Linked DNA regions of Homo sapiens: all the other regions are linked to region 2. The links are contacts of gene promoters, found by promoter capture Hi-C in blood cells and fetal thymus (Javierre and others, 2016). All regions are on one chromosome and are shown on one strand. Each heading gives the region's core, a stretch centred on a gene start or on the middle of the fragment in contact. The rest is flanking DNA. Distances are from core to core; before and after follow the strand shown. Region 1 overlaps R3HDM2 (R3H domain containing 2). Region 2 holds the start of PIP4K2C (phosphatidylinositol-5-phosphate 4-kinase type 2 gamma). Region 3 holds the start of STAC3 (SH3 and cysteine rich domain 3). Region 4 overlaps R3HDM2 (R3H domain containing 2). Region 5 overlaps R3HDM2 (R3H domain containing 2).

Region 1 (2,700 bases), core at 140-2,639, 290 kb before region 2:
AACACTTGGGATTTAATGCAATAAAACCTAATCTGCCCGCTTTACTTCTGCTAGCTGGTGAATCCCAAAAATATCAGAAATCCACTATGCAAATCATTTCCCTCCTAGGGACCCACCCAAAGCTAAAAACTATAGGGTGACTCATTAGAAATCTACCTATAAACATTTACTGAGACTCAATACAATAAAACCAAGGATTACAGTAAATACCAAAGTACAAAACATGACAGGTATGCTCTAAGTAGTGCAGTATAGCAGAAAGAACTTGCGAGCCTGAAGAATTAACATCATGCCTAATTCTGTCACTTGCTACTGAATGTTAAGCTACTGCTACTGATTTGTTAAGCCACTCAATCCCTATAGCCTAAGTTTCCTCATCTGTAAGATGGAGATAATAGCTGTCTTACTTATCCCAAAAAATTTGAGAGGAACTAAAGTAGCAGTAAGTAACCTTTGTTTTGAACTTTAACATCAAGCCCGTCACTATGGATCAGGCCATGTAAGGCAAGCCACAGAGCCAATTTATCATAGTTCTTGGCCTTCTTCAAACTCAAGCCACATAGTGGCTGAGCCACTCTCCAAATTCTATCATTATTTTTTTGGAGGAACAGGGTGGCCAACCTTAATTATTACTTTTGGTGGCAATTCTTCCCAATGCAAGAAAAATTTAATACTTTACTGCTTCCCAGCTAAATTAAAAACCTATCACACACTAACACATGTAGTCTTCCCTGATAACTCTGCTTAAAATAATCTGTGATGTGCTAAGTTTATCATATAATGATTAAAAGCAAAATCCTCTTCCTGCCCCCTAAAAAGTAAAGCATTAGGTTAGCTGAGTGCGGTGGCTCATGCCTGTAAACCCGGCACTTTGGGAGGCCAAGACAGGTGGATCGCTTGAGCCCAGGAGTTCGAGAACAGCCTGCGTGACATGGCAAAATCCCACCTCTACTAAAAACACAAAAATTAGCCTGGCCTAGTGGTGTGTGCCTGTAAGCCCAGCTGCTTGGGAGGCTAAGGCATGAGAATCACTTGAACACGGAAGGCAGAGGTTGCAGTGAGCCGAGATCACACCACTGCACTCCGGCTACAGAGTAAGACTCCATCTCAAAAAGAAAAGAAAAGAAAAGAAAAATGGCCAGGCATGGTGGCTCATGCCTGTAATCCTAGCACTTTGTGGGGCTGAGACGGGTGGATCACCTAAGGTCAAGAGTTCGAAGCCGGGCACGGTGGCTCATGCCTGTAATGCCAGTACTTTGGGAGACCGAGGTGGGCAGATCACTTGAGGTCAGGAGTTCGAGACCAGCCTGACCAACATGGTGAAACCTCATCTCTCCTAAAATTACAAAAATTAGCCAGGCATGGTGGCGGGCGCCTGTAATCCCAGCTACTTGGGAGGCTGAGGCAGGAGAAATGCTTGAATCCAGAAGACGGAGGTTGCAGCGAGCCAGGATTGCACCATCGCACTAAAGCCTGGGCAAGAGAGCAAAAAATTCCGTCTCAAAAAAAAAAAAAAAAAAAGTAAAACATTAGGGGGAAAAAAAAGCCTGTATTTTTAGGATATCCAGAAATGTTGAGTCATTTTTCTTAGTGGGGCAGGATTTATCATAAAGAAAACTCACAAGGAAAAAAAAAAAAAAAGAAGGGGGAATAAAAAGACTCATATAAGCAGCCATTCTCCTAGAGAAGCTAGGAGTGAGCAGAGAAACTGGTATTTCAGCACAACTAGTATCCAGTTCTTTCAGGCTCTGTGGAAGGCTCCAGCTGGGTAGCCTTTCAGGCATCAAATGTGTATACACCTATGTACGCCTACACAGTTTCCATTAGAGGTATGTATGTGTATGTGTACATGTGTGTATGCACACTTACGCAGGTTCACAATTGGGGTACAGAGTACAGGCAAGAAAACTCTGCCTACATAATTTGAACAAACTAGATATTCATGACAAGTCTACTTGTGAAATGTATTACTAATAACATTAGAAAAGAAGCTAGAGGAAGGGCTCTCACCTTGGCTCTTTTCCTGGCATGACCATGGTTAGATGTCCGCCTCTGTTAGAAGGGAATTGGAAAATATTAAAGGTGGAAGAAAATCGACATGTAAGTTAAAAACAATACATGTTTATAAAGAAAAAGCACTAACTGTAAAAACCATTACAACAGCCAAACTATGATGAGGACCACTTGATGTGGGTTTCTCCCTACAACCTACAACTCTAACAACTGTGACAGGAAAGGGACTACAGGCCAATACAGTCAAATCACCATTCACCATTAAGTTAGAGAATCAGAAGATGGTCAGATGTGGTGGCTCATGCCTGTAATCCCAGCACTTTGGGAGGCCGAGGCAGGCGGATCCCTTGAGCTCAGGAGTTTGAGACCAGCCTGGGCAACAAGGCGAAATCCCATCTCTACAAAAAAAAAAACAAAACCAAAAAGACAAAGAAAAAGAAAAAGAAAAAAAAAATTAGCCATGTGTGGTGGCATGCACCTGTAGTCTCAGGTATCTGGGAGGCTGAGGTGGGAGGATGGCTTGAGCCTGGGAAGAGGAGGTTGCAGTGAGCCGAGATCACGCTACTGCACTCCAGCCTGGGTGATAAGAGCCAGACCCTGTTTCAAAAACCAAACAACAAAAACCATTAAAAAGAAAAAAAAAGAGTTGGAAGACACTGATTTTGTTGGCCTATTTCACAGACTGAT
Region 2 (2,700 bases), core at 137-2,636:
CTCTTGCCTTGGCACCTGGGTAATCCTTTGCCCACAACTCCTGACCTCAGGTGATCCTCCCGACTCGGCCCCGCAAAGTGCTGGGATTATAGGCGTGAGCTACCGCATCTGGCTTTTTTTTTTTTTTTTTTTTTTTGAGACAGAGTCTTGCTCTGTCGCCCAGGCTGGAGTGCAATGGCATGATCTGGGCTCACTGCAACCTCTGCCTCCTGGGTTCAAGCGATTCTCCTGCCTCAGCCTCTCAAGTAGCTGGGACTACAGGCACCTGCCAACATGCCCGGCTTTTTTTTTTTTTTTTTTGAGATGGAGTCTCACTCTGTCACCCAGGCTGGAGTGCAGTGGCGTGATCTCTGCTTGGCGTGATCTCTGCTTGGCGTGATCTCGGCTCACTGCTACCTCCGCCTCCTGGGTTCAAGTGATTCTCCTGCCTCAGCCTCCTGAGTAGCTGGGATTACAGGCTCACGCCACCACGCCCGGCTAATGCCCGGCTAATTTTTGTATTTTTGTAGAGACGAGGTTTCACCATGTTGGCCAGGCTGGTCTTGAACTCCCAACCTCAGGTGATCCTCCCGCCTCGGCCTCCCAAAGTGCTGGGATTACAGGCGTGAGTCACCGCGCCCGGCTTCGTTCTTTCTTGTCTCCATGTCTTTGTATGCTGTTCTCTTTGTCTAGACAGCCTTTTAACCTCTATTCCTGAACTCCACCCACCCTTCCAAACTCAGTAAAGTCTCTATCCTCTTTGAAGCCTTCCCTGACCAGCTACACTTCCTTTCTTTGTATCATTGTCTTTGCTTCATACACAGTTCTAGGATAGCTCATACTTTGCATACTGCAAACTTGATCTCCATTGGCCAGCCAGTGCCATTAGACTCCCAACTACTTCGGGGCAGTCACTGTCCTATACCCTGCTTCAATAAAAGGAAAATCAGCCCCTAGAACAGGACCTAGTACAACTAAGTGCACAATAAATACTTGTTAAATGAATGAATGAATTTCAAGACGCTTGAGACCACTGGTAAGAATTTTGGGTTTCCAAAACCCTCCCCTTCCCAACCCCCATTCGGTAAGAATGCTTTCGCATTAGCATCAGGTCCGAGGTTACTCATTAGAAACTGGGCAAAGCCGGAAGGCGGCCACTTTGCAGCAAAGAAGCCCTAGACCTTGGGAGTCAATCAGGCCAGCCCAGGCCGCACCACGGTCTCCTAGTTGACAGTTCGAGGGGCCTCGCGGGCCGCTTGCTTCGTCAGCTTACAGGGATCCCGCACGCCAGGTGAGCCCACACACTGAGCGGACATTGGGGCAGGCAGGCAGGCGCCGGGGGGCGGGGCCAGCGTCGCCCCGCCCCGTCCTGCCTCGCCCTGTTCGCGCGTCCGCTGTCCGGCCTCCGGTCACGTGACAGCAGCGCAGGTGAGCGCCGCTTCCGGGGTCGGGCGCCTGGATAGCTGCCGGCTCCGGCTTCCACTTGGTCGGTTGCGCGGGAGACTATGGCGTCCTCCTCGGTCCCACCAGCCACGGTATCGGCGGCGACAGCAGGCCCCGGCCCAGGTTTCGGCTTCGCCTCCAAGACCAAGAAGAAGCATTTCGTGCAGCAGAAGGTGAAGGTGTTCCGGGCGGCCGACCCGCTGGTGGGTGTGTTCCTGTGGGGCGTAGCCCACTCGGTGAGAACCAGCCCTAGACCCCCGCAGCCCTGTCCAAACCCCTCGGCTCCGAGGCGTCCCTGTTTCCAGGCTCCAGCCTCCGGAGCCCCACGCAGTGCCACTCCCCTCCCCCGGGTTGTCTTGGTCCCTGCCCACCAACCCCAGGTGTTCCCCCAGCAGGTTTTCTGACTGTGGACTTTTTTCTCCCCAACAGTTCTTTACTGCTCCACTCTAGTTCCACCTTCCCCCCGTGAAATCCAGCTCCCTGTGCTTTGACTCCTTCCTGCCATGTCTAGCTTCAGCCTCAGGCTACGCGGACTGGCCAGGACCGGGCGCAAGCGGGGAGGACATTAGGGGGAGTGGCTTTTTCTCGGGTGGTTGTTGGTGAGAGTGTAGGTGGAGGGTGAGGGGCCGAGGGGAGTAGATGGATGAAAAGGTTCTTTCACTTTGCTTTCCACCTTGCTTCCCAGCCCCGGTCCTTGGCTTTTGAATCTTGGTTTTGTCTCGGGGAAGCTCCAGGTTTCCTGGGCTTTCTAATCCTGCTTGTCCCTTCCTTTCCCTTCCAGAGGTACAGCATTTTAGAGAAGCTACCCCACCCTGAGCTAGAAGTTGCACACTCTCAGGACTTATGTATATATGCCTTTGGTCTTAACTGCATCCTTATCGCTGGCTAGAGCGATCGTGTTTGGTGTAGGTGGTGGCGATTGTTGACCAAAGAGAAGGCTGAGGGGCTCTGTTCCTGAGGTCACTATGGTGGTGAACTTTTGAAGCAGGAAACTGCTCTGGGAGTCAGGAGGAGGCCAAGGAGACCTCCATCCCCTTTCCTGAGGATACCTCAGCTGAAAGAAGCACAGCCATTGCCCATCTTCCGTCAGGTCTGGAGTGGGAGAAATGCAGTTATCTTGAATGTGACACGGAATATTTTCGAAATCAGCGTTCTTGAATATAGTCATGGCTAGGCTGTGGAGATGGAAGTTGTGAGGAAGAATACGCGTTTTGTCACATTTTTAATTTGTGGTAAAGAATTTCTTAACCAAAAATTAAGAATGTTGTTTGTGGCCAG
Region 3 (2,700 bases), core at 200-2,699, 340 kb before region 2:
AGAAATGTGATGAGAGATTTTGCTGTTGTTACTGTTGAGATGGGGTCTCACTCTGTCACCCAGGCTGGAGTGCAGTGGCGTGATCATGGCTCACTGCAGCCTCGACCTCCCAGCCTGAAGCGATCCCCCTACCTCAGCTTCCTGAGTAGCTGGAACACAAGGTGCACACTACCTGGCTACTTTTTTATTTTTTGTAGAGACATGGTCTTGCTTTGTTGCCTAGGCTGGTCCCGAACTAGCTCAAGCAATCTTCCTGTTTCAACCTCCCAAATTGTTGAGACAGGCGTGAGCCACTGCACTGGGCCAAATACAGATCCTTTGGCAGGTTTTATTAACAGATTTCATGGAGGTCTAGAAAAAAGCTTAACATGGCCGGGTGTGGTGGTGCATGCCTGTAATCCCAGCACTTTGGGAGGCTGAGGCAGGCGGATCACTAGAGATCAGGAGTTCAAGACTAGCCTGGCCAACATGGTGAAACCCCATCTCTACTAAATATATAAAAATTAGCCGGGTGTGGTGGCGGACGCCTGTAATCCCATCCACTCAGGAAGCTGAGGAAGGATAATCGCTTGAACCCGGGAGGCGGAGGTTGCAGTGAGCCGGGATTGTGCCACTGCCCTCCAGCCTGGGTGACAGAGCAAGACTTCGTCTCAAAAAAAAAAAAAAAAAAAAAAAAAAAGCCCAACAGACTAAAGAGCTTCCCAATTAGTTCCTCAAACTGATACTCATCCTTCCATCCTGAGGGGCGACCCCATAGTTTACAGCCCTTACACAGTGTTCAAAGCTGCGTGGTTTACGTCATTTTCCTATAGGTACTTTGTTTCTCCTGGAAATCTGTGGGCAACAGAGATGTGATGCATACCTTCCCAGATCTCCTCTCTTCAAGAGGTTTAATGTGTGTCCTCGTGTGCACACAAGGAAGGATGGACTGGAGACATTTGTCCTCCCCTACTTTTTTCTTGAGCCCTGGGGGCCCTGTGCCTAGTTCTGTCCCAGCCTGCCTCAGGGCTCAGCTATTTTAAGTTTTCAGGGTAATATGAGCCTTTCCTTCCCTTACTACTTCATTCCCTTCACCCCACCCCCACCCCCACCCCCCGCTTCAATCCAAACTCATCCTAGAGTAGAATAATAATTTTACGCCTAAAACCCAAAAGACTCACAGACAAGGAGAGAAATGAAGAAGCTGAGTAGATTATAGATCAGGGCAGCTGGGGTGAGCAGTCGTGGAAATCAAGAGGATGAAGAGGTAACTTACGTTCGGGATTCCCTAAGTCAGTCCACAGGCTGTAGAGGGAGCTGGGAGCCTCGAGGCCTTGATGGTGGTGCTGGGGAAAAACTGGTCCTCTTCCTTGGGGGCTAAGCCCCCCCAGTACCCCCTGTGTTCACACCAGCTACCCAGTCGCTATTTGTAGACCTCCTAGCCTCCTGCCTTGGTGTCAGGGCTGAAATGACAGGGCTGGAGGAAAGTGGACAGCTGAGAAACACAGCTGACACAGAGAAATTGGACACTGAGAGGTCTGGGGCAGGGCCGGACCCTAACTCCTCCCAACCCCCTAGAGCTGCTGTTCCTTGATTCTTCATCTAAGGCGAACAGGTGAATAATGGCTGAATTCAGGAAGGGACAGTTTCTGTTCATGCTCATTTAACATTTAAGGGGAGTTTATTTTTATTTTTCATTTATTTTTTGAGACAGGGTAAAAAAAGACTAATTTGAACTCATAGAGCTCTCCTATCAGCCATACTAGATGGCTTTTTTTTTTTTTTTTTTGAGACAGAGTCTTGCTCTTGTTGCCCAGGCTGGAGTGCAATGAAGCGATCCGGGCTCACTGCAACCTCCCAGGTTCAAGCGATTCTCCTGCCTCAGCCTCCTAAGTAGCTGGGATTACAGGCGCCCACCACCACGCCAAGGTAATTTTTGTATTTTTAGTACAGATGGGGTTTCACCATGTTGGCCAGGCTGGTCTCGAACCCCTGACCTCAGGTGATCCGCCTGCCTTGGCCTCCCAAAGTGCTAGGATTACAGGTGTGAGCCACCGTGCATGGCTAGATTGCTTTTTATCTGTAGGTGGTTGGAGGAGTACTTTGCTATCCTGTAAGAAAGTGAAGAATATGTAGTATTGCTTCATTCCCTCCAGCAGCTCCCAGAGACATCTCCCCACCCTCCTTCTTGTAAAATTTTGTCCTCAGACTGAAGGGAATTACCAGGGCTATTAAAAAGGGCCAGTTAACACTGGACAGAAGCATATAGCTGCCACATAAGGAATTTTTTAAATCATTTCTAAGTAATGTCCCCTTCCTCATGAGAACTGCAAACTCTTAAAGGTAGGATGGCCAACCCTCACACTTCCTAAACCCTTTTGATTCCCTGATTCCATCTCCCACCTTTGATGCCTCAGTATATAACTGATGGATCAAAGAGACAGATGCCATTCTCATCTCACAGGGGTGCACCCTTCTACTCTTTGGGCTGTGACATGGATGAAAGAGGAGATACTCCCATCTCAGGGGAGAGCAATTTAGAGGTGGCAATGCAGTGCTGCTCTATTCCTTGTATCTGTAAGAAATAAAGGACTGTGTTGGAGACTGGGTCAGGCAAGCTCCTGTAGGATCGTCGTTAGGGATACAGCTACTTGGACCCAAGAGATTTCCAGGGCAACGTGCTTTGTCATTCTCACCCACTACTTTTTTCTATTTAAGGGG
Region 4 (2,700 bases), core at 27-2,526, 270 kb before region 2:
GACACAAGGGAATCATGGAATCTCATAACTGTAAGGGTATTTAGAAGCTTTCTCATTCTCCATTTTTCTTTTTCTTTTTTTTGAGATGGAGTTTCGCTCTATTGCCCAGGCTGGAGTGCAAGCGGCATGATCTCGGCAACCTCCGCCTCTCGGGTTCAAGCAATTTCCGGCTAATTTTTGTACTTTTAGTAGAGAAGGGGTTTCACCATGTTGGCCAGGCTGGTCTCGAACTCCTGACCTCAAGTAATCTGCCCGCCTCAGCCTCCCAAAGTGCTAGGATTACAGGCGTGAGCCACTACGCCCAGCCTTAGCTCCATTTTTCTACAACCGTAGTCTTCCATAATTAGGTTCTTAACTCATTAGTAACTGTGAAAAATGTCCCTGCTTGTATACCTCTTAGTGAAGGGAAAGTCTTCACCTCCAGAAAGAAACCATTTCTTTTTGGAACACTTTCCTTTTAAAGAGGCAAAATTTACCTCTTTGGTAGTTCCTCCCACCGGCCCCTGTTTAGCCTTCTGTGCGAGTCATAAAGAACAAGCTTAATCTTGCTTCCCTATCAGCTCTTTGTAAAAGAAAACTTTACCTTATTTCCTTCTCTAAACATTCCCAGCTTCTTTAAGTCAAGCTTTCAAATCACATGGCTTTAAGTCTCCTTACCATTTTCTTCTAGGATAAAAGAAACTGCCCTGAAAGTAGGCAGAGGCGAGTAATGAGGGGTCAGACTGTTACTAATACAGAGTTAAGATCCACTGGAAGATAAACTAAGCATAAAACTGTATTTCTTAGGCTGAGGCTCTCTTTTGCTTTCCAAAATAACCTTTAATTAAGGTCATTTCCAGTCCTTTCAGCCAATGCAGAAGGCTCTCGTTACTCTTGGGGCATAAAGATTCCTGGAAACAATTTTTTCTGGGCCAAAACAAAAGCAAAAGAAAGCAACCAACTAAAAAAAGCCTTAGGCTGGGCGTAGTGGCTCACGCCTGCAATCCCACCACTTTGGGAGGCGGGCGGATCACTGAGGTCAGGAGTTTGAGATGAGCCTGGCCAACACGGTGAAACCCCGTTTCTACTAAAAATACAAAAAATTAGCTGGGGGTGGTGGTGCGTGCCTGCTAATCCCAGCTACTCAGGAGGCTGAAGCAGGAGAATCGCTTGAACCCGGGAGGTGGAGGTTGCAGTGAGCCAAGACTGCTCCACTGCACTCCAGCTTGGGCAACAAGAGTGCAACTCTATCTCAAAAAAAAAAAAAAAAAAAAAAAAAAAGCCTTAAACAGCTAAAATAAAGCCAGTAGTAGCTTAAAAGGCAGAGAAGTAATTCCATTCTTAATAGTTTATTTGGTATAGAGAAGAAATTAAGGGTTTGGGAGGTTTTTGATGGGAGAAGAAAGGAACTACTTCATATGTAATGGTGACTAGAACAAAGCAGACATTAGGCTCCCAGGAGGGCCTAGATGTGTGCTTCCCTACAACCTATTTGTGTACAGTGTACATTTCATCCAGCCAAATAGTACAATTTCAAAGGCAAGATGTCTCCTGAGGATACTCAGTAGCTCAAAGCTGCACAGAGGGGACTGTGAGATGTCGGGGGAACAGGTGGGGCAGTGAAGAAATAGGATAATACAGGGGAAGATTATTGGAAGCCAAGATTCACCTATTTTTTTCAGGGAGAATACTGCATATTCCCTATAATTTTTTTTACTGCTAGGGTAAGTACCTTCCATAATAGAGTGAGATTATATATCCTTCCATCAATTTATAAACAACTTTCTAGGCATTGAGCCAAAAGGAATATGTTAGATAGGGGATATTCAGAGACAGAAGAATAATTTCATTTTCTCACTTTTAATCTATGGCCAAGTAGAGAGAATGCAAGCAAGACAACGATATCTAGGTGCTAAAAATTCTGGTCTACCCTGTGGCAAATTCCTTGGAAGCTTTCCGGTCCTGTACTAATTTGTTTATCAATCATAAGTTACTCTCAATTGATACATTTTAAAAAATGTTTAAAATCTAGGGGCTCAGGAGAATAAACAAATGTAATATTATTTAATAATAAAAAAGACTGAACTATAGGCTGAGCATCCCTAATGAGAAAATCTGAAATCTGAAAGAGTACAAAATCCAAAGCTTTTTGAGCACCAATATGATGCTCAAGGGATGTACATAGGAACATTTCCAATTTTGGGTTTTGGATTATGGATGGTCAACCATAATATTCCAAAATTTAAAAAAATTTCCAAAATCCAAAAAATCTTAAATCTGAAATACAGACAGTCCCAAGCATTTTGGGTAAAGGTTGCTCAACCTTACTGTACATACTGAGACACACAAAAACATGGATAGGGCCGGGCACAGTGGCTCATGCCTGTAATCCTAGCACTTTGGGAGGCCAGGTTGGGTGGATCACCTGACGTCAGGAGTTCGAGACCAGCCTGACCAACATGGTGAAACCCCGTCTCTACTAAAAATGCAAAAATTAGCCGGGTGTGGTGGTGGCATGCCTGTAATCCCAGCTACTCGGGAAGCTGAGGCAGAAAAATTGCCTGAACCGGGAGGCAGAGGTTGCAGTGAGCCAAGAACGGGCCATTGCACTCCAGGCTGGGCAACAAGAGCGAAACTCCGTCTTGGAAAATAAAACAAAACAAAACAAAAGCATGGATGGATCTCAAAACTACTATGATAAATTAAAGAAAGTAGACTCTC
Region 5 (2,700 bases), core at 67-2,566, 310 kb before region 2:
TTCTCAGGCTCAGCAACTTTGGTCTAGGGAGCCCCCAGTGCTGAAGGCCAATCAGGGAAAAAGAAAGCAAAAGAAAGAAAGAAAATGGCAGTAGGAAGAGGAATAAAAAAATAAAGAGGAAGGGTGAAAAAGTGGAGAGGGAGAAAAAAGGAGATACATACAGTGAGATGGTGGGATAATTTTTAGCAGCTTCCATAAATGCTTCCAGGGCATCAAAACCTGGATAAATTCTTTCATTTGGAGTTAGTGATCACAATTAATCTCAAGAATGAATTTCTAAGAGAACAGGAATTGCTGCACCAAGTAGTGTTCCTTTACCCCCGAGCTATAGCACCTAACCTGGCACCACACTCCCCATAGGAGATAAGCCAATGCCAACGATCGACCAATTGACCCTCACAATCCAGTAGCAGGGACAGAACCTGAGTAGAAGATTGGGGTTTAGGGCCAGTCACTTGGACATTCTGTATAAATTTCAGTCCCAAATGGTTCTTTTATCTCTTTATTCCTCTCCCACTCTTGCCGTCTCGTCTGTTTCTAGGTATGAGATTATAGGTGGAAGATGCAGGCAGATGGGAGACTAAGAGGGAGAAAAGGGAGCAAGACTATTAAAATACACATTTTAGGGAAAAAAAAACCTAGAAAATATTAGGACCTTGGAAAAGCAAGTCATACACATAAAAAACACGGTAGCAGATGACAGAAGGAGAAGCATAGTTTACCCACTTACAGGTTTGAATTAAGACACAGACAGAGAAAAGTACACATACAAGGACACTATGCTTCAGTAGGGAGCAAGGTAAACTGAAGTGAACGAGACTTACTGGGGTAGATGGTGGTAGAACAAGAAAGTTAGGACTATAGAAAGAACTGACTTAGACTAAGATAGAGGACTGCAATGACTTGCATGCAAATTACATTTAGACACAAAGTAGGATTTCCTAGATCTTCACTGTTCTTTGTTTCAGCTTCATTTCACAATATTTGAGATAGGGCAATACTGGGCCATTCTGGGGTCTTTGCACTCTAGTTTCTAGTTCATGGGGTATTAGTGTTTGGGACTTGCTTCTTACACCTAGGGAAGAAATATATCTAAGGCCAAGCTGGACTAATAAGCAGAGGGATGAGGGAGCCTGGGAGGTAACATGAGAATGTAAACTACAGCAGAAAAGACTGCAGACACATGGGCTTTCCAGCTACCAGAGAATACTTCAGGATAAAGTATGGGGCTCTCCTCAAAAAGAGCTCTATTCGTGTGAGAAGGGAGTAAGTGAAGATCTCAGCACAGCTCTGCTCGGAGTATTAAGGTGACTTTTTTTTTTTTTTTTTTTTTTGAGACAGGGTCTTACTCTGTCGCCCAGGCTAGAGAGCAGTGGCGCGATCTCGGCTCGCCGCAACCTCCGCCTCATGGGTTCAAGCGATTCTCCTGCCTCAGCCTCCCTAGTAGCTGGGATTACAGGCACCCGCCACCATACGTGGCTAATTTTTGTATTTTTAGTAGGGACCGGGTTTCACCATGTTGGGCAGGCTGGTCTTGAACTCCTGACCTCAGGTGATTCACCCGCCTCAGCCTCCCAAAGTGCTGGGATTACAGGCTTGAGCAACCATGCCTGGCCTTAAGGTGACTTTTAAACATAGTCACCTTAATGACAATGGCCAGGCATGGTGGCTCATGCCTGTAATCTCAGCACTTTAGGAGGCCAAGGAGGGAGGATCACTTGAGCCCACAAGTTTGAGACCAGCCTAGGCAACATAAGCAAGACCCTATCTCAAAATAATAATAATAACAATACATTTTTTAAAAATTAAAAGAAAGAAATAAAACAGAATACTGAAGTTCTGGTTTAGAACAGGACTGATTCTTAGGCTAATGACCTTCCTGGTCTCCACAGATGCAAAACTTCACTTAAACTCTAGTTGGTACCAACATTTACCAGTCCAGCAACAGAAGGAGAAGGATACAGCCCTTTTGAGTCATGGAAAACAAAGACACATTTGGAGTCTTTGTGTTTCGTGGCATATGTATGGAAGGGGTCTTGAGTGTTATTTCTTTTTTCCGCAAACCCCAACACATAAATAGGTGTTTATGGGTCCACATAGTTGGTCAGATGATGGTGGAAGTTATAATCTTTTCAAGTTCCAATATATAGATGTAATGGAAAAAAATGCCTTGTTAATTACACATGGACATAGAGGGAGATGGGGTACAGTAGAAATGTGGTATGAAATAAAAGATTCTACTGACAATGTTCAGGAAGCAGAGGAAGAAATATAAAGCAAAAAACCCCCAAGCTGACTCAGTAGTTATTTGGCAAAACCTTTGCTCAAGGTTCTTCTTTCCCTACAACTAACAAATGAGAAATGGGGGAGAGAGTGGCATGTCTCCAAAAACTGATCCTTCCTGCCACCCACAGCACAAGAGACATGACGGTACATCTAAAGTTTGCTTGAATCAGAGTGGAGAGGACTCTGACACTGAGTGGTGACTCACCTGTGAGATCATGTGATTATTCAAGGGTGGCTGTTGCTGAGGCGTGGGTGGGAGAGCAGGAAGTTGCTGCTGCTGCTGCTGCTGTTGCTGCTGGGCAGTACAAGGGAGAAGCCCCCGGACAGACTGGGATGAGGTGACCTGGTTGCACACTTCTGGGGCACCTAGTGCCATACCTAAGGCAAAGAAGAAACCCACAAAAAGTTGTAAGC

What was found. Contacts are between HindIII fragments. The CHiCAGO score rates a contact against its expected background, and 5 or more counts as called.
Region 1: a contact is called between a fragment that was not itself captured here and the fragment with the promoter of PIP4K2C in region 2, in 3 of 17 cell types (neutrophils, M2 macrophages and megakaryocytes). The highest score is 8.8, in neutrophils.
Region 3: the fragment with the promoter of STAC3 here is called in contact with the fragment with the promoter of PIP4K2C in region 2 in 2 of 17 cell types (neutrophils and naive CD8 T cells); the score reaches 8.4 in neutrophils.
Region 4: a fragment that was not itself captured here is called in contact with the fragment with the promoter of PIP4K2C in region 2 in 3 of 17 cell types (M2 macrophages, erythroblasts and naive CD8 T cells); the score reaches 7.9 in M2 macrophages.
Region 5: a fragment that was not itself captured here is called in contact with the fragment with the promoter of PIP4K2C in region 2 in 3 of 17 cell types (M2 macrophages, neutrophils and erythroblasts); the score reaches 7.9 in M2 macrophages.

The regions. Positions count from the first base shown.
Region 1 is chr12:57,301,166-57,303,865 of GRCh38, forward strand. It overlaps R3HDM2 (R3H domain containing 2), which reads right to left. Exons shown (of 24, transcript NM_001394031.1): 4 at 2,011-2,052. Among named protein-coding and RNA genes, the nearest start is that of STAC3, 51 kb to the left of the region's middle. The HindIII fragment of the contact is 4,597 bases long and covers 1-2,700 here.
Region 2 is chr12:57,589,806-57,592,505 of GRCh38, forward strand. PIP4K2C (phosphatidylinositol-5-phosphate 4-kinase type 2 gamma) reads left to right here and starts at 1,387. Exons shown (of 10, transcript NM_024779.5): 1 at 1,387-1,658. The coding sequence starts at 1,485. RefSeq lists enhancers at 995-1,044, 1,125-1,626 and a silencer at 1,225-1,484. The HindIII fragment of the contact is 11,010 bases long and covers 1-2,700 here.
Region 3 is chr12:57,249,738-57,252,437 of GRCh38, forward strand. STAC3 (SH3 and cysteine rich domain 3) reads right to left here and starts at 1,450. Exons shown (of 12, transcript NM_145064.3): 1 at 1,256-1,450. The HindIII fragment of the contact is 3,998 bases long and covers 361-2,700 here.
Region 4 is chr12:57,319,029-57,321,728 of GRCh38, forward strand. The region is part of intron 2 of R3HDM2 (R3H domain containing 2); the gene reads right to left. Among named protein-coding and RNA genes, the nearest start is that of STAC3, 69 kb to the left of the region's middle. The HindIII fragment of the contact is 1,306 bases long and covers 624-1,929 here.
Region 5 is chr12:57,277,867-57,280,566 of GRCh38, forward strand. R3HDM2 (R3H domain containing 2) reads right to left here. Exons shown (of 24, transcript NM_001394031.1): 14 at 2,492-2,664. Among named protein-coding and RNA genes, the nearest start is that of STAC3, 28 kb to the left of the region's middle. RefSeq lists an enhancer at 1,914-2,700. The HindIII fragment of the contact is 2,822 bases long and covers 1-2,700 here.